Linked DNA regions of Homo sapiens: all the other regions are linked to region 2. The links are contacts of gene promoters, found by promoter capture Hi-C in human tissues and cell types (Jung and others, 2019). All regions are on one chromosome and are shown on one strand. Each heading gives the region's core, a stretch centred on a gene start or on the middle of the fragment in contact. The rest is flanking DNA. Distances are from core to core; before and after follow the strand shown. Region 1 has its middle 22 kb from the start of ZNF250. Region 2 holds the start of ZNF34 (zinc finger protein 34). Region 3 has its middle 23 kb from the start of ZNF16. Region 4 overlaps ARHGAP39 (Rho GTPase activating protein 39). Region 5 overlaps ARHGAP39 (Rho GTPase activating protein 39). Region 6 overlaps ARHGAP39 (Rho GTPase activating protein 39).

What was found. The method cuts DNA at HindIII sites, captures the fragments that hold promoters and counts their contacts. A contact is called where the count stands out against the background at its distance.
Region 1: a contact is called between a fragment that was not itself captured here and the fragment with the promoter of ZNF34 in region 2, in 2 of the 25 tissues and cell types used here (dorsolateral prefrontal cortex and spleen).
Region 3: a contact is called between a fragment that was not itself captured here and the fragment with the promoter of ZNF34 in region 2, in 2 of the 25 tissues and cell types used here (dorsolateral prefrontal cortex and mesendoderm cells).
Region 4: a contact is called between a fragment that was not itself captured here and the fragment with the promoter of ZNF34 in region 2, in 2 of the 25 tissues and cell types used here (H1 embryonic stem cells and dorsolateral prefrontal cortex).
Region 5: a contact is called between a fragment that was not itself captured here and the fragment with the promoter of ZNF34 in region 2, in 4 of the 25 tissues and cell types used here (IMR-90 fibroblasts, bladder, dorsolateral prefrontal cortex and 1 more).
Region 6: a fragment that was not itself captured here is called in contact with the fragment with the promoter of ZNF34 in region 2 in 2 of the 25 tissues and cell types used here (lymphoblastoid cells and spleen).

The regions. Positions count from the first base shown.
Region 1 is chr8:144,921,697-144,925,143 of GRCh38, forward strand. No RefSeq gene overlaps it. Among named protein-coding and RNA genes, the nearest start is that of ZNF250, 22 kb to the left of the region's middle. The HindIII fragment of the contact is 8,062 bases long and covers 1-3,447 here.
Region 2 is chr8:144,785,378-144,788,967 of GRCh38, forward strand. ZNF34 (zinc finger protein 34) reads right to left here and starts at 1,940. Exons shown (of 6, transcript NM_001286769.2): 1 at 1,902-1,940. It also overlaps the pseudogene RN7SL395P. RefSeq lists a silencer at 1,669-2,028 and enhancers at 2,179-2,408, 2,449-2,508. The HindIII fragment of the contact is 13,629 bases long and covers 1-3,590 here.
Region 3 is chr8:144,971,802-144,975,561 of GRCh38, forward strand. It overlaps the pseudogene ZNF252P. Among named protein-coding and RNA genes, the nearest start is that of ZNF16, 23 kb to the left of the region's middle. The HindIII fragment of the contact is 3,961 bases long and covers 1-3,453 here.
Region 4 is chr8:144,564,848-144,568,350 of GRCh38, forward strand. The region is part of intron 3 of ARHGAP39 (Rho GTPase activating protein 39); the gene reads right to left. Among named protein-coding and RNA genes, the nearest start is that of C8orf82, 37 kb to the left of the region's middle. The HindIII fragment of the contact is 3,546 bases long and covers 1-3,264 here.
Region 5 is chr8:144,633,912-144,637,662 of GRCh38, forward strand. The region is part of intron 1 of ARHGAP39 (Rho GTPase activating protein 39); the gene reads right to left. Among named protein-coding and RNA genes, the nearest start is that of ARHGAP39, 50 kb to the right of the region's middle. The HindIII fragment of the contact is 4,920 bases long and covers 1-3,751 here.
Region 6 is chr8:144,597,858-144,601,607 of GRCh38, forward strand. The region is part of intron 2 of ARHGAP39 (Rho GTPase activating protein 39); the gene reads right to left. Among named protein-coding and RNA genes, the nearest start is that of C8orf82, 71 kb to the left of the region's middle. The HindIII fragment of the contact is 8,983 bases long and covers 1-3,750 here.

The sequences.
Region 1 (3,447 bases), core at 449-2,948, 140 kb after region 2:
GGGTATATCTCTGGATACAATGTGTAATCCTTCCTCCATACAGTATAAAGGGTATATCTCTGGATACAATGTGTAATCCTTCCTCCATACAGTATAAAGGGTATATCTCTGGATACAATGTATAATCCTTCCTCCATACAGTATAAAGGGTATATCTCTGGATACAATGTGTAATCCTTCCTCCATACAGTATAAAGGGTATATCTCTGGATACAATGTGTAATCCTTCCTCCTTGCTCATGTGTATTTTTCTGTCCATCTAAACTTGCTAAGGATTCTTTCATGCTCCTGCCAAAAATGGTCCTAGAGAGAGCTTAACAGACATTAAATCTCAGTTTGGAAGTGTTGTCCCTAGGGAACGTATTAAGTGGTGGAAATACATGTGATACATATTTTCCCTTTTTCAAATCTGCATTTTCTAGAATTATGTTGATTTTAAAATTAAAAAAAATTAAATTGGGCAAGTCACATTTGAAATCTGGGCCACAACCCTTTCAAGGGCTTCTGTACAGCATGTGATGACACCACCTCAGTGCTGCAGTCCTGGGTAGGCCCCAGCCCCTGCATGAGGTGAGAAGGGATCACACATGACAGCTGAGGATTGGCAGCACCAGAGTGGGCAGGGGTGGGGGTGGGCACCAGTTGTCACTTGTTCACTGATTAAGCCTGTTATAGGACCAACAGGTTTGTATGCTGGCTGCACAGTAACAGCCCAATGACACTGAGACAGCAGGGATGCAGCAGAGAGTTTAATTATTGCAGGGCACCAAGTAAGGAGATGGGAGGAGACCCTCAAATCCATCTGGGGTTTTTAAGGGGATCATGGAGGGCGAGGGGCTGGAAAATGGGGGTAGTTGATTGGCCAGGGCAAAGGGGATGACATCATCAGGACGTGGAAACTGCATTCTTTGGTGTGGTCAGCTCCTTGTGGCATCTTTCCGACCAGCTCAGTCAGTGGTCTTAAAAGTATGCAGGATCTGAAGGCGTATCTCAAAGGGAAAACTTAACATTTCATGATGTTCAAGTTGTTATCTACAGAGCAGTTCAAGGGAACTATAATCTAGGGCCTGTGTGATTCTAGGCCGTCGGCACCAAATGACTATGTGGAGGCATGTCAGGGAGTAGCTGACCTAATGATGAATGCTGAATGTGCTGCAAGCTTTGTTTATTTTCATTTCCCCCCCTCTTCTTCCCAGATTAATTTGATAAAGTTTATAGGGGCAGTTTCAAGCCATTTTACGAATACCATTCTGAGACACATGCAGCAGCTAGGGCAATGAGTGCATGGCAGGGGCCACATGGCCGCTGCTGGGAGAAAGGGAAGGACCTTTTACGGTGGAAGGTTTGGGGGTCAATACTCAGACTGTCAGTCCCAGCAGATGGAATGAGTGTCTCTTCTCTCCACCCTCCCCTCCTTTTTTGTTTCTCTTCTCCTCTCTCCAATTTCTCTGTTTCATGATCATGAAAGCCCAGTATTTGGTAAGTAATTATGATATTAAGTACTTATCTAAATAATTAAGGGTCTTTTGAGAAAAATAATTAGTCTACTAAGATTTTTATTTTAAAAAAGAAAGGCCAGGTGCTCACCCCTGCAATCCCAGCACTTTGGGAGGCCGAGGTGGGCGGATCACAAGGTCAGGAGATCGAGACCATCCTGGCTAACACGGTGAAACCCCGTCTCTACTGAAAATACAAAAAATTAGCCAGGCATGGTGGCAGGTGCCTGTAGTCTCAGTTTCTTGGGAGGCTGAGGCAGGAGAATGGCATGAACCCGGGAGGCAGAGCTTGCAGTGAGTGGAGATCGCACCACTGCACTGCAGCCTGGGCAACAGAGTGAGACTCCATCTCAAAAAAAAAAAAAAAAAAAAAAAAAAAAGAGCTTTCCTATCATCTTCCTCATGCCCCAGCCCCCACTAAACAGAGACATCTCAGGCTCATGGAGTCAGTAAATGTATGACCTAGGCTTTCTCCATCATATGGACTTGGTATTTGTTCCCTGAGAAACACATTGCTGAGGACATCACCAAGGTCAAAAGGAAGAAACAAATTTGTGATTCACAGAAATTTCAAGACTATTTCTCTTTGGAAACGTGACGACGTACTGAAATTAAAATTCCCTAGGCTTTGGATGAAGCACCCCAACATGTGTCAAATCTGGCTGGATGCTGGGCAGCACCAGAGACCAGGAGGAGCTGGTCATTTACTTGTCCTAGGCAGCACCTTCCTGTGGCCCCTGCACAGTCCACTGCATCCATCAGTGTGGCCACTACCCTGTGCCTCAGCTGCAGTGGGTGTCCTGGTGGCTGTCTCCCAGTGGCATTGAGGTGAGGGGAAGGGCGGACTCACGGGAAGAAACGGAGTTAGAAGGGAGCAAACACAGTCAGGAATGCACAGTCTCTTCTCCACACAGCAGTGATCATATTCAGATGCAAGTCAGGTCATCCTCCTCTGCTCAGAACCCTCCAGGATCTCCCCATCTCACACACAGTAAAAGCCAGTCTTTGTCATGGCCACAGACCTTCATGACACACCCCAGCACCTCTCTCCTTTGCTCACTCTACTCCTAGCCATGCTGCCCTGAAACACTCCAGGTCTCAGGCCTGGTGTCCCATTAACTATTCTCTCTGCCTGATACGTGAATATCCTTTTATTTTCACTTGACACTCTCTCACGTGCTTTGCATCACTGCTCAAATGTCATCTCAGTGAGACCTTCCCTGATTGTCCCCATTTAAAACCAAACCCCTCCTGGACCCCACATGGACCCCAATCCCTCCCTGCTTTAGTGTTGCTTTCCAGCAATCATCACCATCAGGTCATTTTCTCTTCCCACTGGCACCTAAACTCCACAAGGCAGACACTTATGCCTCTCTTGTTCCTGTTGTATCCTTGCACCTTGGCGCCTCATGCCTGGCAGATAGAAAGCATTCAACAAGTGTTTACTGGAACAATGAGTAATCAAATCCAGGCTAGAAAGGGAGAAACATGAGGCCAGAGAGGAGCCTGACTGATGAGGCACATGTCAGCAGATTGGCCAGCATGATGTTGAAAGACTGGGCAGGCGAGTTAGGAGGGTAACAGGGCCATGCTGCTGTTGAAATTCTGGGTGTTGCCTTGGGAAAGGGCGCTGTAGTGGAGGTGACGGTGAGACCTGGGGTGGGGTGTGTGGGCAGCCAACACCTTGTGGGTGGAGTGCCGGCCTCTGAGGTGAGCACAGGCTCAAGCCTGTGGGACCGACCTTCCCATCTTCAAGTCGACACTTCCACACTTTCTTCTCTCTTCAAATTTCTCACAACCTCTCCCTCCCCATTTGCAACTGAGGACTTTGCCTCCTGCATCCTTGAAACCATCCCACCAAACCTACAAACTGACTACATTTGCCCCATTTTTCTCCTTTCTTCTTGGAAATGCAGGAGGTGTCTGTCTATCCAAGAGTAACCCCTCAACC
Region 2 (3,590 bases), core at 690-3,189:
GCTGCTGTGCCAATTGGGTGTCCCCACTAAGTTCGGCATCAATATGGTGACATCCGGGGAGCAGGAGACCACCATATTGCCTAAGGAAGGGTGAATCAGCTCAGGTGGGAAACAGGGCAGGTCAAAACTCCTGTGCTGATCAGTAGTGGGATCACGCCTGCGAGTGGCCACTGCACTCTAGCCTGAGCAACATAGTGAGAACCCCATCTCTAATTTTTTAATTAAGAAAAAATGTAAAGTAAAACAAGACTCTCCCCACAGATTGGGGAAATATAAAATACTTCATAATACCAAATGTTCAGAACACTGTAAACTGGTAGACACTCTAGAAATATGTCTGGCCCTACCTGGTAGAACTGAAACCCTGCAAAACTCTCAGTGGGGAAACCCCACTCGAAGTATGTACTTTATGGAGACTCTTGCTAATGCACACAAAAAGAAACACAAAAATGTTACCATGTGCCTGTGTAGAAGAAGAAAAAACTTCAGCGTCCATCAGCAAAGTCAGAGTGGTGGAAAGTAATGTCAAGGAGATAGAGCACAGTTATAAGGCTGAGAAAAACTGTCAGGTACAGAATATACACAGTATAATACATAGGTAGTTTTTTTTTTTTTTTTTTTTTTTGAGACGGAGTCTTGCTCCATCACCCAGGCTGGAGAGCAGTGGCGGGATCTTGGCTCACTGCAAGCTCCGCCTCCCGAGTTGACGTCATTCTCCTGCCTCAGCCTCCCAAGTAGCTGGGACTACAGGCGCCCGCTACCACGCCCGGCTAATTTTTTTGTATTTTTTAGTAGAGACGGGGTTTCACTGGGTTAGCCAGGATGGTCTCGATCTCCAGACCTAGTGATCCCCCCCGCGCCTTGGCCTCCCAAAGTGCTGGGATTGCAGGCGTGAGCCACCGTGCTCTGCCATACATATGTAGATTTTTAAGAGACAAAAACAGTATTAGGTTTGTAGAGATATAAGAAAACGAGGCCGGGCGCAGTGGCTCACGCCTGTATTCCCAGCACTCTGGGAGGCTGGGGCGGGCAGATCACTTGAGGTCAGGAGTTCGAGACCAGCCTGGCCAACATGGTTAAACCCCATCTCTACTAAAAATACAAAAATTAGCTGGGCATGGTGGCGGGCGCCTGTAATCCCAGGTATTCGGGAGGCTGAGACAGGAGAATCCCTTGAACTCGGGAGGCGGAAGGTGCATTGAGCCGAGATCGCGCCATCGTACTCCAGCCTGGGCGACAGAGCGAGACTCCGTCTCAGAAAAAGAGAGAGAGAAAGGAAAGAAGGAAGAGAAGAGAAAAGAAAAGAAAGAAAAAATAAAGAAGAGAAACAAAAATCTGGCTGCCTGGCTGCGGGGAGAAAAGCCTTGGAGCGCCAGAAGCGAGGAGGGTGGGGCGGAGGGAAGGCACAAGCAGAGGGAGGAGCACTGGCGGAGCGCGGACGCTAAAGGCAGGAGGGGCGGCATTCGCAGAGGGCTGGGAGGACCGCGAGACGCACGAGCCCCGCCCCTGAAAAGCTGACAGGAGAGGAGCGTGGGAGGGAGCCGGGATGGGAAGCCTCGGGCCGCTGGGACCAAGGGGTCTGGAGCGCATCGGGACGCAGAAGCCGCTCTGTGCGGCAGGAGTCCAGGGGACCCCGCGTGGGGCAAGGGAGTTGTCAGGGGCTCGAGAGCGGAAGGAGCCCCGTGAGGAGCGACCCCAGGGCTGGCAGAGAGCGGCGAGGCGCAGTCCGTACTCGGGGCCTTGTCCGGGGGGTCCCTCGAACAGGAAGTGCCGCTGATGGCGGGACGGACCCACGCCTGCAGCACCGCGAGAGGACCGGGCACAGGGGCAACGCGCAGGGGAGGGTCTGCGCCGGGAGGGTCTGCGCCCCGCGCGCCCGCCCCCGCCGGGCTCACACTCACCTCAGCGCCGCCGAGCAGCACGGCAGCCCAACCTCGCCCGTTCGGCCCTCCCTCCCCGCCAATCGGAACCGATCCGGAAGTGACGTCAGCCGACTGTCTGGGTCCGAGGCGCCGTCCGGGCCGCTCTGGGAAGCTAGGACGCCGCGTGTCGGCTGCCCACCTCCCTGGCTTGCAGTAAGGCTCCGGGGACCCGCGAATGGCAAAGCCGTAAAGCGGGAATGCTGCCACCGGGTGGCAGTCCGAAGCCACGGCCCAGAGGCCTCAGAACTGGGGCGATGGTCAGAGGCGAAAACATATTAGTCTTTCCCTTTTTCTGAGAAATTCTCTCCCTAATGATGCACGAAAGGCGCCGCAAACAAGAACTAGGCCCTTCGATTTACAGAGAAACGGGAACCGCACCCTTCCTTAGGGCCAAGAAAGGATGCTTACTGGCCAAAGAAGCCTGTCTTGGGTTTAACCTATTGCTCCTCATCCTTAACTCCTGTAAATGGGGCCCAGTGTCCACTCTGGAGAAAGGGTTTTTCGGGTGCCTGAGCTGCTTCTGGAACAAACTTTCCCTCATGGCCGGTCCATCGGCCAAGCCCTGCCGTCCACTTTGCCCAGAAGGGAGCAGAAAAACAGTGACCGCTTATGGCCAAGCTAAGCATCTAGTGCTTTCCCAAAACCCTCTTTCCAGATGCCCCTCCATCCTTCAGGAGGAAACACCGCCCTCCTGGATTCTTTCTCGACAAGTCAGCTGGGACCCTGGGACCGGCCCTGCGAATGACGAGATCAAAACCAGGTCCCGTAGTTACTGGCGGGGAGGCGGGGCTGGAGTGGGAGGACCACATGAGGCCAGGGGCTTGAGACCAGCCTGGCAATAGCGAGAGCCTGTCTAAAATAAACAGGCCCTGCTGGGTCACTGCCTAGGTGTGGTGGGCGCCCAAAGACAGGTGGGGCCATACCAGCAGGATCAGGAAAGCAAGATCACGAAATGGGGGGTAAGGTTCTCTAGAGACAGCGTGGACCATGACAGCCAGGAACCACCGCGCAGCCAGTTAGGACTTGTCATCCCGGAGTGACCACGGAAGCCTAAGGTGACTATTCTCACCTGCCAGGCACCCTCCAACCAAGTCTATAGGGAGAGACCGTGCCTCATCCTGCCTGCTGCAGTTCCACAGGAGTGTTGTTAGGGGCAGTGATCTGCAGCTGCTGCATTCGCTGGTGGAACTTCCTCGTGTGAAAGTGCTGATAGGATGCTGTCCTGGGATCTCCTCATTGGATCATGGTTAAGGGACAAGATGCCATGGGCTATGGCCAAACAGGAAGCCCCTCCACTCTGCCTTGTGACGGAAACCAGCTTACTTGCCCTCCCATTGCAGGGGGGGTTCCCCAACACTTCCAACCTGATTCCACTCAATCATCACTGTCAGCCTCATCACTACCAAAGCTAGAGAGAACCAAAGTATCAGCCCCTGCCAGCAGGGAAAGGCCATGTGCTTTAAGGTAATCAATGCAGCTTTGGGGGCTGTTCCTGGTTAGTTTCTCTGCCCCAGGGAAGAGGGGGCTACATGCCCTGCGAAGCTGTGGAGTTACAGGACTCAAGGAGCAGACCAACCTACTGCTGGTGCCAGCTCCAGTCCAGTGTAGGGCTCTGGGTGGGTGGGTGAAGGGACTTGGGTGGTCTGGGATTCCCCATACACACACTGC
Region 3 (3,760 bases), core at 223-2,722, 190 kb after region 2:
TTTTTTTTTGAGGGGAGTCTTGCTCTGTCACCCAGGCTGGTGTGCAGTGGCGTGATCTTGGTTGACTACAGCCTCCATCTCCCAGGTTCAAGTGATTCTCCTGCCTCAGCCTCCCGAGTAGCTGGGATTTACATGCACCTGCCACCCTGCCTGGCTAATTTTTGTATTTTTAGTACAGACGGCATTTCACCATGTTGTCCAGGCTGGTTTCAAACTCCTGACTTCAAGTGATCCACCTGCCTTGGCCTCTAAAGTGCTGGGATTACAGATGTGAGCCACTGCGCCCAGCCTAAATCCATTTTCATAACAGTCTCTCCTACTTCCTTTGATAGACTATATAAAACAGCCACTACAGAGTCTTTCCTGGACGTTACTATTCCCTCATCAATGCACTTCTCTAAGCCTGGGTGAAAGGAGTGCCCTCTTGCACCTCCTGAACCTTTGAATCCATTCTCTGTTGTAAAATCAGGCAATTCTGCATGTCAGCCTCACTCAATGGAGGCCATGACCAAATATAGACTTCCATTAACAAGCTGCTACTGCAACTAGCACAGTGAATCCACAGCCTGCCATGTGTGCACTCATATAACAAACCCAGTCCAATCCAACATTACATTATCTCTAGTTGAACAGCCTTAGAATCTGCTCCCTTTCATATCACCCACACTTCTGCCAACAGTAAGCTGGAAAAATCTTCCAATTATTTGGCACTCTCTCTCTCAGGTCACACTTTTCCCTCATTTCCCAGGTCTCCTGGAGTTTCACTACAGGAAGCAATCAAAGTTGGTCGATATTGGGAACAATCCACACTCCCCTGCAAAGTGACAGCTTTAAGAATAATGTGTGTAGCTGCAGGTAATTGATTTTGACGTAGTTTTCTGCTATATTATACTTACAATCAAACTTCTTTTCTCCCCCTCTCCATGAACACTGGACTTGTTTTTTTTTCTTTTTTTTTTTTTGTTGCTATTACAGGAACAGCTGCTATTAAACATTTTGGGACACATCTTCTAGTTCTCATGCAAGTACATCCCCAACATGTATGTGCAGGAGTGGAACTGGGTTGTGGGTTACATAATTTTTTTTTTGAGACGAAGTCTCGCTTTGTCGCCCAGGCTGGAGTGCAGGGGCGCGATCTCAGCTCACTATAACCCCCGCCTCCCAGGTTCAAGCGATTCTCCTGCCTCAGCCTCCTGAGTAGCTGGGATTACAGGCTCCCACCACACCACCTGGCTAATTATTTTAGTAGAGACAGGGTTTTGCCGTGTTGGCCAGGCTGGCCTCAAACTCCTGACCTCAGGTGATCCACCTGCCTTGGCCTCCCAAAGTGCTGGGATTACAGGTGTGAGCCAGTGCATCTGGCCAGGGCTAATTTTTAACTGTATTAATAATGCCAAAATATTTTCCAATGTGTCATACCAATTTCCACTCCTATCAGCCGCGTATGAGAGTAACTGTTGCTAAATATATTTGGTGTCATTCTCTGTCAGATCTTTAATTTTTGCCAACCTAGTGAGGGTAAAATGACATCTTGTAATATCATTTTGCATGTCTGTGATTAATAATGACCTTTGCCCCTCTTTTCATACAGGTTGGTCATGGGAGGGTTTTGGGTGATGAAGAAGCCTTGGCAGGTTTCGTGGCAGAGAAAAATCCAACTAAGTCATGCTGCCTGGAGAGTCAGGGCCTCATAAATTGGGATTAGAGGCAGGAGTTTTAGTCCTAAAGATCTTACAGATTCCCAACCATACAAAGTGCCTCCCACCTTACATGAAAATGGGCAATAATGGAATCCACTGATTACATTTTAATGTTTGTGAATACACATATAAAACACACATTAACCTTAACAATTGGTGGGGAAGATTGGCAGCACAGGACTATGCACAACAAATTAGCAGGCACTAAGGCAGAATATCTTTTACAGCAGAAAGACCAAATCTGTCCCTTTCTGATGCACATCTTCAGTTTTGGGTCATGAGCTAGTGGTGGAGGTCAAGGCCAAGGTCAACCTAAGAAGTCTACAATAGCATGCATCAATGGAAATGCTGCAGAACAAACATGGAGGAAAAAGTAAAAATGCTCTTGTAACCATCAACACCTGCAAATATGCCACTTACTCTTTTTCTCTTGTGAGTGCAGTGAGCATGACTAAACACAGTAGCTCTCTGGGAAGAGCAAGAATAAAGGAGTCTTCAGAATGAGTTGTAAGATATGTATGATGCTTACAAAGTGGAGTTCACAATTGTCCTGTTTAATGTCAGTCTCCTTATTTTAAGAATGCTTCAGGTGACAAAGGCCTGTGTCAGCAGTATGGATCATGATGAGATTCCTGGAAGGCTGAACCTCTGCTGGTACAGGCATAAAACTCCTCCAGAAATGGCTTCTTTTTATTAACTAAAGAAACTGAAAATGCCTTTCTCCTCTCAATTTTAATGTAAGTGGTTAAGAAGCCAGGAGAGGCCGGTGTGGTGGTACACAGCTGTAGTCCCTGCTACTCATGAAGTTGAGGCAGGGGAATCACTTGAGCCCAGGAGTTCAAGGTTACAGTGAGCTATGACTGCACCACTGCACTCCACCCTGTGCAACATGATACAGCATGATACTGTCTCAAAAAAAAATGCTAGGAAGTACCAAGTGTATGATTGCTCTATGCCAATCATCAAATAGAGCAGAGACCATCTAGCTCCCAACCAATATTAATGCCATCACCAAGCCAAGTAATTAGGAAACAGAAATTTGACTTGAATAGAGAACATTAAAAGCCATGATAAATAAAATTCAGTATGATTTGGATGAAATATTTAATGGAAAATAAAAACATATTCCAAACTGATAAGGTTAATCTGGAGAAATGTTTTAGCCATAAAACCCAAAACCGGATTTGAGTAAATACCGAGGTTCTTAGTTAAGTAAACACCTCCATCTTATGTAAACAGGTTTAAAACAAAAAAAATATTATTTTCTGATTTGGTTGTGTAATCGTGGGCCTCAGAGGAAAAGCTTCCTAACCCTTTTGTCATATATATATATATTTTTTGGAGTCTTGCTTTGTGGCCATGCTGGAATGCAGTGGTGCAATCTTGGCTCACTGCTACCTCCGCCTCCTGGGTTCAAGCAATTCTCCTGCCTCAGCCTCCCAAGTAGCTGGGACTACAGGCGTGCACCACCATGCCCAGCTAATTTTTGCATTTTGTAGAAATGTGGTTTCACCATGTTGGCCAGGATGGTCTTGATCTCTTGACCTCGTGATCTGCCCACTTCAGCCTCCCAAAGTGCTGGGATTACAGGTGTGAGACACCGCGCCCAGCCTCCTTTTGTCATCTCTTGATGGAACCTCAAAGAAGAGATCCTTGGGGGAAACTGAATTTCTTTTTGCTTCCTTCTTAAAAGTTCTTCTCTAGAAGAAGTTGTAACTGGGTAACAAGCTCTAAGTCCCTGGATCAGCCTGCAGGCAAGAGAGCTGGGTGAATTGACATTTAAGTTTTGACTTAACTTCAGGAGATTAAGGTTTCCAGCCACCTCAGGAAAAGCCATGAACTCTGTTCTTGCAGTGTAACATAGCTATCTGTGATGGGTAAGTGAAGCCATAAGCCACAGGCTCCCACCCTTGGACATTTTCCTGATTTTTCTTCATGACAACATATCTAGAAGACCCATCTACCAAATCCTGTTTAAGTAAAATGTACAATTTCCCATTTTGAATTAGTTGGATATATTGGGCCAGCTACAAGACTGCAAGCTCCTTGCTGGCAGCGTC
Region 4 (3,503 bases), core at 242-2,741, 220 kb before region 2:
TGTAATCCCAGCACTTTGGGAGGCCAAGATGGGGGCGAGTCATCTGAGGTCAGGAGTTCGAGACCAACCTGACCAATATGATGAAGCCCTGTCTCTCCTAAAACACACAAAAATTAGCCAGGCGTGGAAGCATGTGCATGTAATCCTAGCTACTCGGGAGGCTGAGACAGGAGACTCGCTTGAACCCGGGAGGCAGAGGTTGCCGTGAGCCGAGATTGCGCCATTGCACTCCAGCCTGGGCAACAAGAGTGAATTCCATCTCAAAAAAAAAATTATATACATATAAATTAGCTAGGTGTGGTAATGTGTGCCTGTTGTCTCAGCTACTTGGGAGGCTGAGAGGACTGTCTGGGCCAGGAGGTTGAGGCTGCAGTGAGCCGAGCCTGCATCACTGCACTCCAGCCTGGGCAACGGCAAGGCCTTGCCTCAAAACCAAACCAAACCAAACCCACCACTAGAAAGAAAAAACGCTTCGTGAATTTGAAAGCACAACAACAGAAATGATCCAAAATTAAAGCTACAAAAAACAGAGGAAAAATAAAGAAAAAAGAGAAAGTGGGACTGAGTGCAGTGGTTCATGCCCGTAATTCCAGCATGGTGGGAGGTCAAGGCGGGTGGATCACTTGAGGTCAGGAGTTCAAGGCCAGACTGGGCAATGTGGCGAAACCCCGTCTCTACTAAAAATACAAAAATTAGCCAGGCGCGGTGGCAGGTGTCTGTAGTCCCAGCCACTCGGGAGGCTGAGGCAGGAGAATTGCTTGAACCCAGGAGGTAGAGGTGCAGTGAGCTGAGATTGCACCACTGCACTCCAGCCTGGGTGACAGAGCGAGATTCCATCTTAAAAAACAAAAGAAAAGAAAATGGAAATTATCCCACAGAGTCAGAGAGCTGCAGGATGACTTCAAGTGACCTGACACATAACTGCAGTGCTGGGTGGGGGTGTGAGCACAAACACAGTCTAAAGAAAAGGCCAGGCACAGTGGCTCACACTTGTCGCACTACGGGAGGCTGAGGCGGGAGGATCGCTTGAGCCCAGGAGTTTGAGACCAGCCTGGGAAAAACAGAGAGACCCCAACTCTACAAAAAAAAAAAAAAAAGGCTGGGTACGGAAGTCAGCAAGCTTGTGGTCCCAGCTACTCAGGAAGCAGAGGTGGGAGGATCGCTTGAGCCCAGGAGGTTGACGCCGCCATCATCTGTGATTGCGCCATTGCACTTCAGCCTGGGCTACAGAGCGAGACCCTGTCTCAACAACAAAAAAAGTTTTGTTTTGGGAGAAAAAATGACTGAAAATTTCTCAAACGTGATGAAGACCATAAACTGAGAGGTCCAAGAAGCTACACGAACCCCAGCACAAGGAACACGAAGAAAATGACATAAACCCCTATCTTAATCAAATTGCTTAAAATGAGCAAAATAGAGAAAATAAAGGAGCTAGAGCCAGGTGTGGTGGCTCACTCCTGCAAATCCAGTGCTTTGGGGGCCGAGGCAGGTGGATCGCTTGAGTCCAAGAGTTTGAGACCACCCTGGGCAACATGGTAAAACCCCATCTCTACCAAAAATACAAAAATAAGCTGGGTGTGGTGGTGTGCACCTGTGGTCCCAGGTGCTGAGGTGGGAGGACAGTTTGAGATTGGGAGGCAAAGTGTGCAATGAGCAGAGATCACGCCATTCCACTCCAGCCTGGGTGAAAGAGCCAGACCCTGCCTCAAAAAAATAGAATGAAATTGGCTGGGTATGGTAGCTCATGCCTGTAATCCCGGCACTTTGGGAGGCCAAGGTGGGCAGATCACTTGAGGTCAGGAGTTCGAGGCCAGCCTGGCCAACATGGTGAAACGCCGGCTCTACTAAAAATACAAAATTAGCTGGGCATGGTGGTGTGCGCCTGTAATCCCAGATACTTGGGAGACTGGGGCAGGAGAATTGCTGGAAGCCAGGAGGTGGAGGTTGCAGTGAGCCGAGATCGTGCCACTGCGCTCCAGCCTAGGTGACATAGTGAGACTCCATCTCAAAAAAAGAAAAAAAAAAAAAAGAAATAAAGGAGCTAGAGTTAAAAGACACATTATGTAAAGAAATACAAAGAATGACAGCTGATTTCTTGTTAGAAATGATGCAAGCCAGAAGACAATGAAGTGGCAAAAAGGAATAAATCTTAACCTACACCCAGCAAAAGTAGCTTTCAAAAATGAAAATGAGGCCAGGTGTGGTGGCTGATGTGGGCGGCAAGCCACCCAGGTGCTGAGGCAAGAGACTGAAGGCACGAGCTGTTCCAGTATGATAAAATATATAAAATAAGAATAGTTATACCAGATATAGATCTTAGATATGATTATATATGAATATCATTGATCAATAGTTTGTAGCAATTACTCTTTATTCCAATATTATAATAATCCTTGCTCTACAATCATAACCTAGGAAAAACCAGGCCATACAGAGATAGGAACTGAGGGGACATAGTGAGGAGTGACCAGAAGACAAGAGTGCGAGCCTTCTGTTATGCCCAGACAGGGCCACCAGAGGGCTCCTTGGTCTAGCGGTAACGCCAGCGTCTGGGAAGACACCCGTTGCCAAGCGGACCGTGGTCTAGCAGTAGCGTCAGTATCAAGGGAAAACACCCGCTACTTAGCGGACCAGGAAAGGGAGTCTCCCTTTCCCGGGGGGAGTTTAGAGAAGACTCTACTCCTCCACCTCTTGTGGAGGGCCTGACATCAGTCAGGCTCGCCTGCAGTTATCCAGAGGCCTAACCATCTCCCTGTGATGCTGTGCTTCAGTGGTCACGTTCCTAGTCCACCTTCATGTTCCATCCTGTACACCTGGCTCTGCCTTCTAGATAGCAGTAGAAAATTAGTGAAAGTACTAAAAGTCTCTGATATGCAGAAATAATGGCGTAAGTTGTTTCTCTCTCTCTCTCCTCTCTCTCTGCCTCGGCTGCCAGGCAGGGAAGGGCCCCCTGGCCAGTGGACATGTGACCCACGTGGCTTTACCTATCATTGGAGATGGCTCACTCTCCTTATCCTGCCCCTTTGTCTTGTATCCAATAAATATCAGCGCAGCCTGGCATTCAGGGCCACTACCGGTCTCCATGTCTTGGTGGTAGTGGTCCCCTGGGCCCAGCTGTCTTTTCTTTTATCTCTTTGTCTTGTGTCTTTATTTCTACAATCTCGTCTCCGCACATGGGGAGAAAACCCACTGACCCTGTGGGGCTGGACCCTACAGGCTGATGCCTGTAATCCCAGCACCTTGGGAGGCTGAGGTGGGCAGATCACCTGAGGTCAGGAGTTTGAGATCAGCCTGGCCAACATGGTGAACTCTCGTCTTTGCCAAAAAAATACAAAAATTAGCTGGGTGTGGTGGCACACGCCTGTAGTCCCAGCTACTTGGGAGGCTAAGGCAGGAGAATCACATGAACCTGGCAGGTGGAGGATGCAGTGAGCCGAGATCACACCACTGCACTCCAGCCTGGGTGACAGAGTGAGACTCTGTCTCAAAAAAAAAAAAAAAAA
Region 5 (3,751 bases), core at 779-3,278, 150 kb before region 2:
TTTAAAAAGATACATGAATACAAGTTCTGCAGTCAGTTGTAACAAACTGCAGAGAGGAAAACAAAACTTCTTACCCAATTAACGGGAAAGACAAACCAAATATAAAGATGTCATCAGACTGAAAGAAGCCCTCTGTGCCCATGAAGGCAATCTAATCAGTGCCTTTCAGTCCCTGAGCCACTGGGCTCCCGGGAACTCCAGGCCTCTGCTGGCGCATTCTCCACTCCAGTCTAGAACTCCAGGCCTCTGCAGGCGCAGTCTCCACTCCTGTCTGGAACTCCAGGCCTCTGCAGGCGCAGTCTCCACTCCTGTCTGGAACTCCAGGCCTCTGCAGGCGCAGTCTCCACTCCTGTCTGGAACTCCAGGCCTCTGCAGGCGCAGTCTCCACTCCTGTCTGGAACTCCAGGCCTCTGCAGGCGCAGTCTCCACTCCTGTCTGGAACTCCAGGCCTCTGCAGGCGCAGTCTCCACTCCTGTCTGGAACTCCAGGCCTCTGCAGGCGCAGTCTCCACTCCTGTCTGGAACTCCAGGCCTCTGCAGGCGCAGTCTCCACTCCTGTCTGGAACTCCAGGCCTCTGCAGGCGCAGTCTCCACTCCTGTCTGGAACTCCAGGCCTCTGCAGGCGCAGTCTCCACTCCTGTCTGGAACTCCAGGCCTCTGCAGGCGCAGTCTCCACTCCTGTCTGGAACTCCAGGCCTCTGCAGGCGCAGTCTCCACTCCTGTCTGGAACTCCAGGCCTCTGCAGGCGCAGTCTCCACTCCTGTCTGGAACTCCAGGCCTCTGCAGGCGCAGTCTCCACTCCTGTCTGGAACTCCAGGCCTCTGCAGGCGCAGTCTCCACTCCTGTCTGGAACTCCAGGCCTCTGCAGGCGCAGTCTCCACTCCTGTCTGGAACTCCAGGCCTCTGCAGGCGCAGTCTCCACTCCTGTCTGGAACTCCAGGCCTCTGCAGGCGCAGTCTCCACTCGGCTCCCGGGAACTCCAGGCCCTGTGCGGGTGTAGTCTCCACTCCTGTCTGGAACACTTCCCTGCACATTCTGGCCTTGGGTAACTTCTGTCTCTCCTTCAGGACTAAGCTCACACATTCACTTCTCAGGGAAACATTCTCGAATCCCTAATCTAGGTGTTCCCACAAAGGATTCTGGTGATACTGTAAAATGTGTGCTTGGTCTTCATCCCACCCTGGCACGCAGCTCCTAAAATGCTTAGAATCTCCATGGTTATGTTGTTTTGTACATTAGTGAGTTGACTCAGGGCTGCAGCCCCTAGGTGGCTTGAGGATGGGGTAGGTCACCAGAAAGACCAACGCACGATTAGAGGGGTGGAATTTTCAGCTGCACTCCCCATGGGGGGAGGCGAAAGAGGCTGAAGGTTAAGTTGGTCACCAACGGTTTAAGCAATCATGCCTATGTAATGACGCTTCCATAAAACCCCAAAAGGACAGCGTTCAAGAAGCTTCCAGAGAGCTGAACACATGGGGGGAGGTTTCTGGAGAACAGTGCACCTAGGGAGGGCATGGAAGTTCCAGGCCCTTTCCCCACACCTCACCCTACGCTTCTCTTCATCTGTATCCTTTGTAATATCCTCCATGATAAACATCAATGTAAGCTTCCCAAAATTCTATGAGTCACTCTTGAAAATCAGTCAGACCCAAGGAGGGGGTGTGGGAACCCCGATTTGTACCTGGTTGGTCAGAGCTCGGGTGAATTATCCCTGGGCTTGTGATGGGCACTGGAAGTGGGGGTGGTCTTGGGGAGCTGAGCGCTTACCCGGTGGGATCTGAGTCTCCCGCTAGGTAGACAGTGTGGAGACTGAATTAGAGGGGGGCTGAGGCTACCGCCAGGTAGACAGTGTGAGGACTGACTTACAGGGTGGCTGAACACTCACCCAGTAGGATCTGAGGCTACCGCCAGGTAGACAGTGTGGGGACTGAATTAGAGGGGGGCTGAGGCTACCGCCAGGTAGACAGTGTGGGGACTGAATTAGAGGGGGGCTGAGGCTACCGCCAGGTAGACAGTGTGGGGACTGAATTAGAGGGGGGCTGAGGCTACCGCCAGGTAGACAGTGTGGGGACTGAATTAGAGGGGGGCTGAGGCTACCGCCAGGTAGACAGTGTGGGGACTGAATTAGAGGGGGCTGAGCACTTACCCGGTGGGATCTGAGGCTACCACCAGGCAGACAGTGTGAGGACTGAATTAGAGGGGGGCTGAATCTCCTGCCAGGTAAGACAGTGTGGGGACCGACTTAGAGGACACCCAGCTGGTGTCTGCTGTGGGACTGATTTGTGGCTGGTATGGAGAAACCCTTCTTGGTGACCACAGGTAGATAATTCTTCTGTGTTGATTCTTACGGGGTGAGTGCAGAAGAAAAACTTCTTAAAACTCAATACTCAGCTAATGTTAGTGGAGGATTAGCAATTAAGAGTGGGAAAGGGGTAGGAAAATGTAAACTCACAATTGAACTGCCTGGGTTAGTTTGTTTTGTTTTTACTGAGGGACTAGGGGGAGGAGTACAGAAGGAACAGAAAAGATGACAAAAGGAAGAAACTATGGGGTCTGCAGGAACCCTACACACCAGGCCAAGCTCCCGACAGCCCCAATCCTCCCTGCGATGCAGGCGATGTGAAGATGCCCAGGAGGGCGGGACGCCTGGTACATCAGAGCAGATGCTAACACAGACACAGCATTACCAAACCCCATTTTCACTTCTGCAGGATAAAGTATGCATGACATCTGCTAGCTCTGCACACTTGCATCTTTAACCAAACTAGCCTTGTACATGTTTAAAGGACCAAGGTGGTTCCCAGCCTTGGAGCATCGCCGGGGTGACACTCCCGCACCCCAGGCTCAGCACCCTCCATTTACCACCTTGTTTTGGTAAGGAACATTTCAGTCACTTCCAGAAAAAAGATGCCTGAGGCCTTTGATAGTTTCAAAGGGTAAAGAATACTACAAAGGAAATCACTTTCCATCAGAATTTTGAACTTACTGCTTCACAGACTTCCAAACTCCAGAACTGCTATTAAGAAGTCCAAAGTTATTCTGACCCTCAATCCTGGAATGCAATCTGTGTCTTTCTGGAAGCTTTCCGAATCTTCAATCTGTTCTCAGGGTCTAGGATTTCCAGACGCCGTGTCTTTGTGTCTTTGTACCAGTCTGTTTTCACACAGTGTGTGGGTGTCTGGTGGACTCTGGGACATTTTGTTCAGTGACTTTCTCTCATTGATGTTTCTTCCATCTCATTCCTAAAACTTTTACTATCCAGGTACTGGACTCTCTAGACTGGTCCTTGAATATTCTTTTCTCCTATTCTCCAACTCCAAATTTTTGCTCTATTTTCTGAGAGATTCTCAACTTTATCTTGCAACCCATGCTTCTGTTTAGTCTTTTTTTTCTTTTGAACCCTACAAAGATTATTTCATTGCTGGGCGCAGTGGCTCACGCCTGTAATCCCAGCACTTTGGGAGGCTGAGGTGAGCGGATCATGAGGTCAAGAGATTGAGATTATCCTGGCCAACATGGTGAAACCCGGTCTCTACTAAAAATACAAAAATTAGCTGGGCATGGTGGCGGGTGCCTGTAATCCCAGCTACTCAGGAGGTTGAGGCAGGAAAATCGCTTCAACCCGGGAGGCAGAGGTTGCAGTGAGCCAAGGTCACGCCACTGCACTTCAGCCTGGCAACAGAGCGAGACTCTGTCTCAAAAAACAAACAAACAAAAAACAATTATTTCATGCAATGTTTATAGACTTAGAG
Region 6 (3,750 bases), core at 291-2,790, 190 kb before region 2:
CCATAATCCAGGCTCAGTCAACATGCAACGGTACCCGGAACAGACAGGGATGCGTCCACACCACAAAGGCTAAAAAAGATGATTAAATGGAAGAAAAGGCCGGAGGAGATTCCCAGAGGTGGAAACCTGAGGGCTAAGAACACACGGAGATGCTCAAACCCACCAGGTAGGAAGCCACGCAGACCCACCCGCCAGCAGGGAAGGAGAGTCCGGCCAGAGTAGGAGCTCCGTGGTGGGGAAGGAGCAGCCCGGGGAAGTCCAGAGGGCGCCCGGCATGGCCTCGAAGGCTGGACACCTGCGGGGCCCTTTCCGCATTGCGTGTAAAGGGGAAATTCGGAACCCAGCCGTGGGCCTTTCCGCGTTGAGTGTAAAGGGGAAACTCGGAACCCAGCCGTGGGCCTTTCCACGTTGCGTGTAAAGGGGAAACTCGGAACCCAGCCGTGGGCTTTTCCACGTTGTGTGTAAAGGGGAAACTCGGAACTCAGCTGTGGGTGTCAGTGGAGGGATACCAAGGTGCCACATGAGGACACATGAGCCCCAGGGAGGCTGGGAAGGAGCAGAAGAGACTCTCGATGAGTCAGGTGTGGCTGGGCACAGGACAGGAGGCCAGCAGGACCAGACAGACGGGCAGAAGCAGCCCCAGCTCCTTACAGAGCCCGGGGCATGAGAGAAGGCACAGTGCCCCTCACAGAGCACAGGCAGCCTCAGCCTCTAACAAATGGCACGGGGACAGCCGGATGCATGTGGAAAACAAACAGGTCAGATCACACCTCACACCACACACAAGAACCAAGGCGGATCTGAGACCCAAAGGCAAAAACAAAAGTATGTCAGCCCATGAGCAGGTGCCACGTGCTCTTTCTCCAGTCACCTGGATGGAGGTGACTAAAACACAGAGGCACTGAAGAAAGGATGGCCAACCTGACTACACAAAGATTCAAAACCTTTCACATGCAAAAGCCACTACAAATAAAACAGATTTTGGCTTTTCAGACACATTTAGTGGAACATTTACAATAAGAGCTCATGTCTTTAATATATAAATTTGAGCATGAAAAGATAAAAAATACTATAGAAAAAGAGCAAAAGATAAGAGCATGCAATTCACAAAGTGAACAGTAATACACGGAGGGTAACTACTTCAGTGATCATCAGAGCCCCAAAGCCCAGGCTGCATGGAGACCCCAGGCACCTGCCCACACATCTGACAGCAGGCAGCTGTTGACGGCCCCGATGGCCCGGGGTTGGTGCTGCTCACAGAAGCCCCAAGGACAGCACATCCAAAGGCATCCTTGGACCTAGCAGTCCCTCGTCAGAAATTCACCTGCAGATGCACCTCCCAAAACCCAGAATTATACAAGCAGACTGCAGCAGTCCTTGTAATTGCAGAATATGCGAAATTACCCATATGGCCAACACAAGACTGAGGCACACACACAATAGAGGCCCAGGAAGCTTTGAAAAAGGACGACAATCTCGATGGTCTGGGAGGCAGTGATGTCTAGGGGATGTTTTAAGTGGAAAAAGCAAATTGTGCAAAGAACACATAAATCATGATACCATTAGTGTAAGAATGAAGGGGAAATAAGAAAACATACTAACATCTGTTTATTCTTCACAATAGAAACCCAGGAGATAAACAGAAAACAAGAGAGTTTCTGCCTGCAGCAGGTAGGCAGGTGCAGAAAGGGCACGGGGAAGAGGCCTGGCTGAATGTGCCTGTGTACGGTTGGGGCTTTGGGAACGTGCGAATGGTCTATATGTTTAAAAGACAAAATTATATCAGGAAGAATAAAAAGGGGGACAAAAAAATCTCTAACTGAAAGTAATGAACCAACGGATGCCAGAACCATAATGAAGAAAAGAGAAAGAGCTAATCCAAACAACTTAGGAACACAGGATGAGCCAGTGTCGCATTCCTGGGAGACACGTGCACATGAGGGAATGCAAATGAACCCTGGCTTTTTTTAGTGCATATATTTTTGTAGTGGAATGGGTGAAGCAATTCTGAACCAATTTTAGATGAATTATCAGATGAGCAAGTGAGTAAACACACTGGTGTTCTTGGGAGCCAGGGAAGAAGAGATGTGATGGAAGAGGGGACCACAGAGCAACTCTCTGTGGGAGGGACGGGACTGGGGCACCGTGTGTGCTCAGCATTTCTAGGAGGCGTTTGTGCGCGTGGAGGCATGCATGCATGTTCATGTACCTGTGTGCGTGTGCATGGAGGCATGTGTGCGCACTTGTGTACCTATGTGTGCGTAGAGACGAGTGTGCGAGCTCATGTACCTACCTGTGTGTGTGCGTGGAGGCGTGTGTGCGCACTTGTGTACCTACCTGCGTGTGCGTGTGTGTGGGGGGCATGTGTGCAAGCTCGTGTACCTACCTGCGTGTGCGTGTGCGTGGGGGTGTCTGTGTGCTCCTGTACCCACCTGCGTGTGCGTGTGCATGGAGGCGTGCGTGTGCACTTGTGTACCTGAGTGTGCATGTGCGTGGAGGCATGCGTGCACACTTGGGTACCTACCTGCGTGTGTGGAGGCGTGTGTGTGCACTTGTGTACCTGAGTGTGCGTGTTCGTGGAGGCGTGCATGTGCACTTGGGTACCTACCTGCGTGTGCATCGAGGCGTGTGTGCACACTTGGGTACCTACCTGCGTGTGCGTGGAGGCGTGCGTGTGCACTTGTGTACCTGAGTGTGCGTGTGCGTGGAGGCGTGCATGTGCACTTGTATACCTGAGTGTGCGTGTTCGTGGAGGCGTGCGTGCGCACTTGGGTACCTACCTGCGTGTGCATGGAGGTGTGCGTGCACACTTGTGTACCTGCGTGTGCGTGTGCGTGGAGACGTGCGTGTGCACTTGTGTACCTGAGTGTGCGTGTTCAAGGCGTGCGTGCGCACTTGTGTACCTACCTGCGTGTGCATGGAGGCATGCGCGTGAGCTCATCTACCTACCTGCGCGTGTGTGTGCGTGGAGGCGTGTGTGTGCTCGTGTACCTGTGTGTGTGCATGGAAGCGTGCGTGCGTGCTCGTGTACCTGTGCGTGTGCGTGGTGTGTGCAAGCTCATGTACCTGTGTGTGTGTGGAGGCATGTGTGTGCTCGTATACCTGTGTGCATGTGCGTGGAGGTGTGTGTGCGAGCTCATGTACCTGTGTGTGTGCGTGGAGGCGTGTGCTCGTGTACCTGTGTGTGCACATGGAGGCGTGCGTGCGAGCTCGTGTACCTGTGTGCATGTGCGTGGAGGTGTGTGTGACCTCATGTACCTGTGTGTGCATGGAGGCGTGCATGTGTGCTCGTGTACCTGTGTGTGTGCATGGAGGCGTGCGTGCAAGCTCGTGTACCTGTGTGCATGTGCGTGGAGGTGCGTGTGCAAGCTCATGTACCTGTGTGCATGGAGGCGTGTGTGCTCGTGAACCTGTGTGTGTGCATGGAGGCATGCGTGCGTGCTCATGTACCTGTGTGTGTGTGTGGAGGCGTGTGTGTGCTCGTGTACCTGTGTGCGTGTGCGAGCTCATGTACCTGTGTGTGCGTTGAGGCGTGTGTGCTCGTCTACCTGCGTGCATGGAGGCGTGCGTGCGTGCGAGCTCGTGTACCTGTGTGCATGTGCGTGGAGGTGTGTGTGCGAGCTCATGTACCTGTGTGTGTGTGCGTGGAGGCATGTGTGTGCTCATGTACCTGTGTGTGTGCATGGAGGCGTGCGTGCGAGCTCGTGTACCTGTGTGCATGTGCGTGGAGGTGTGTGTGCGAGCTCATGT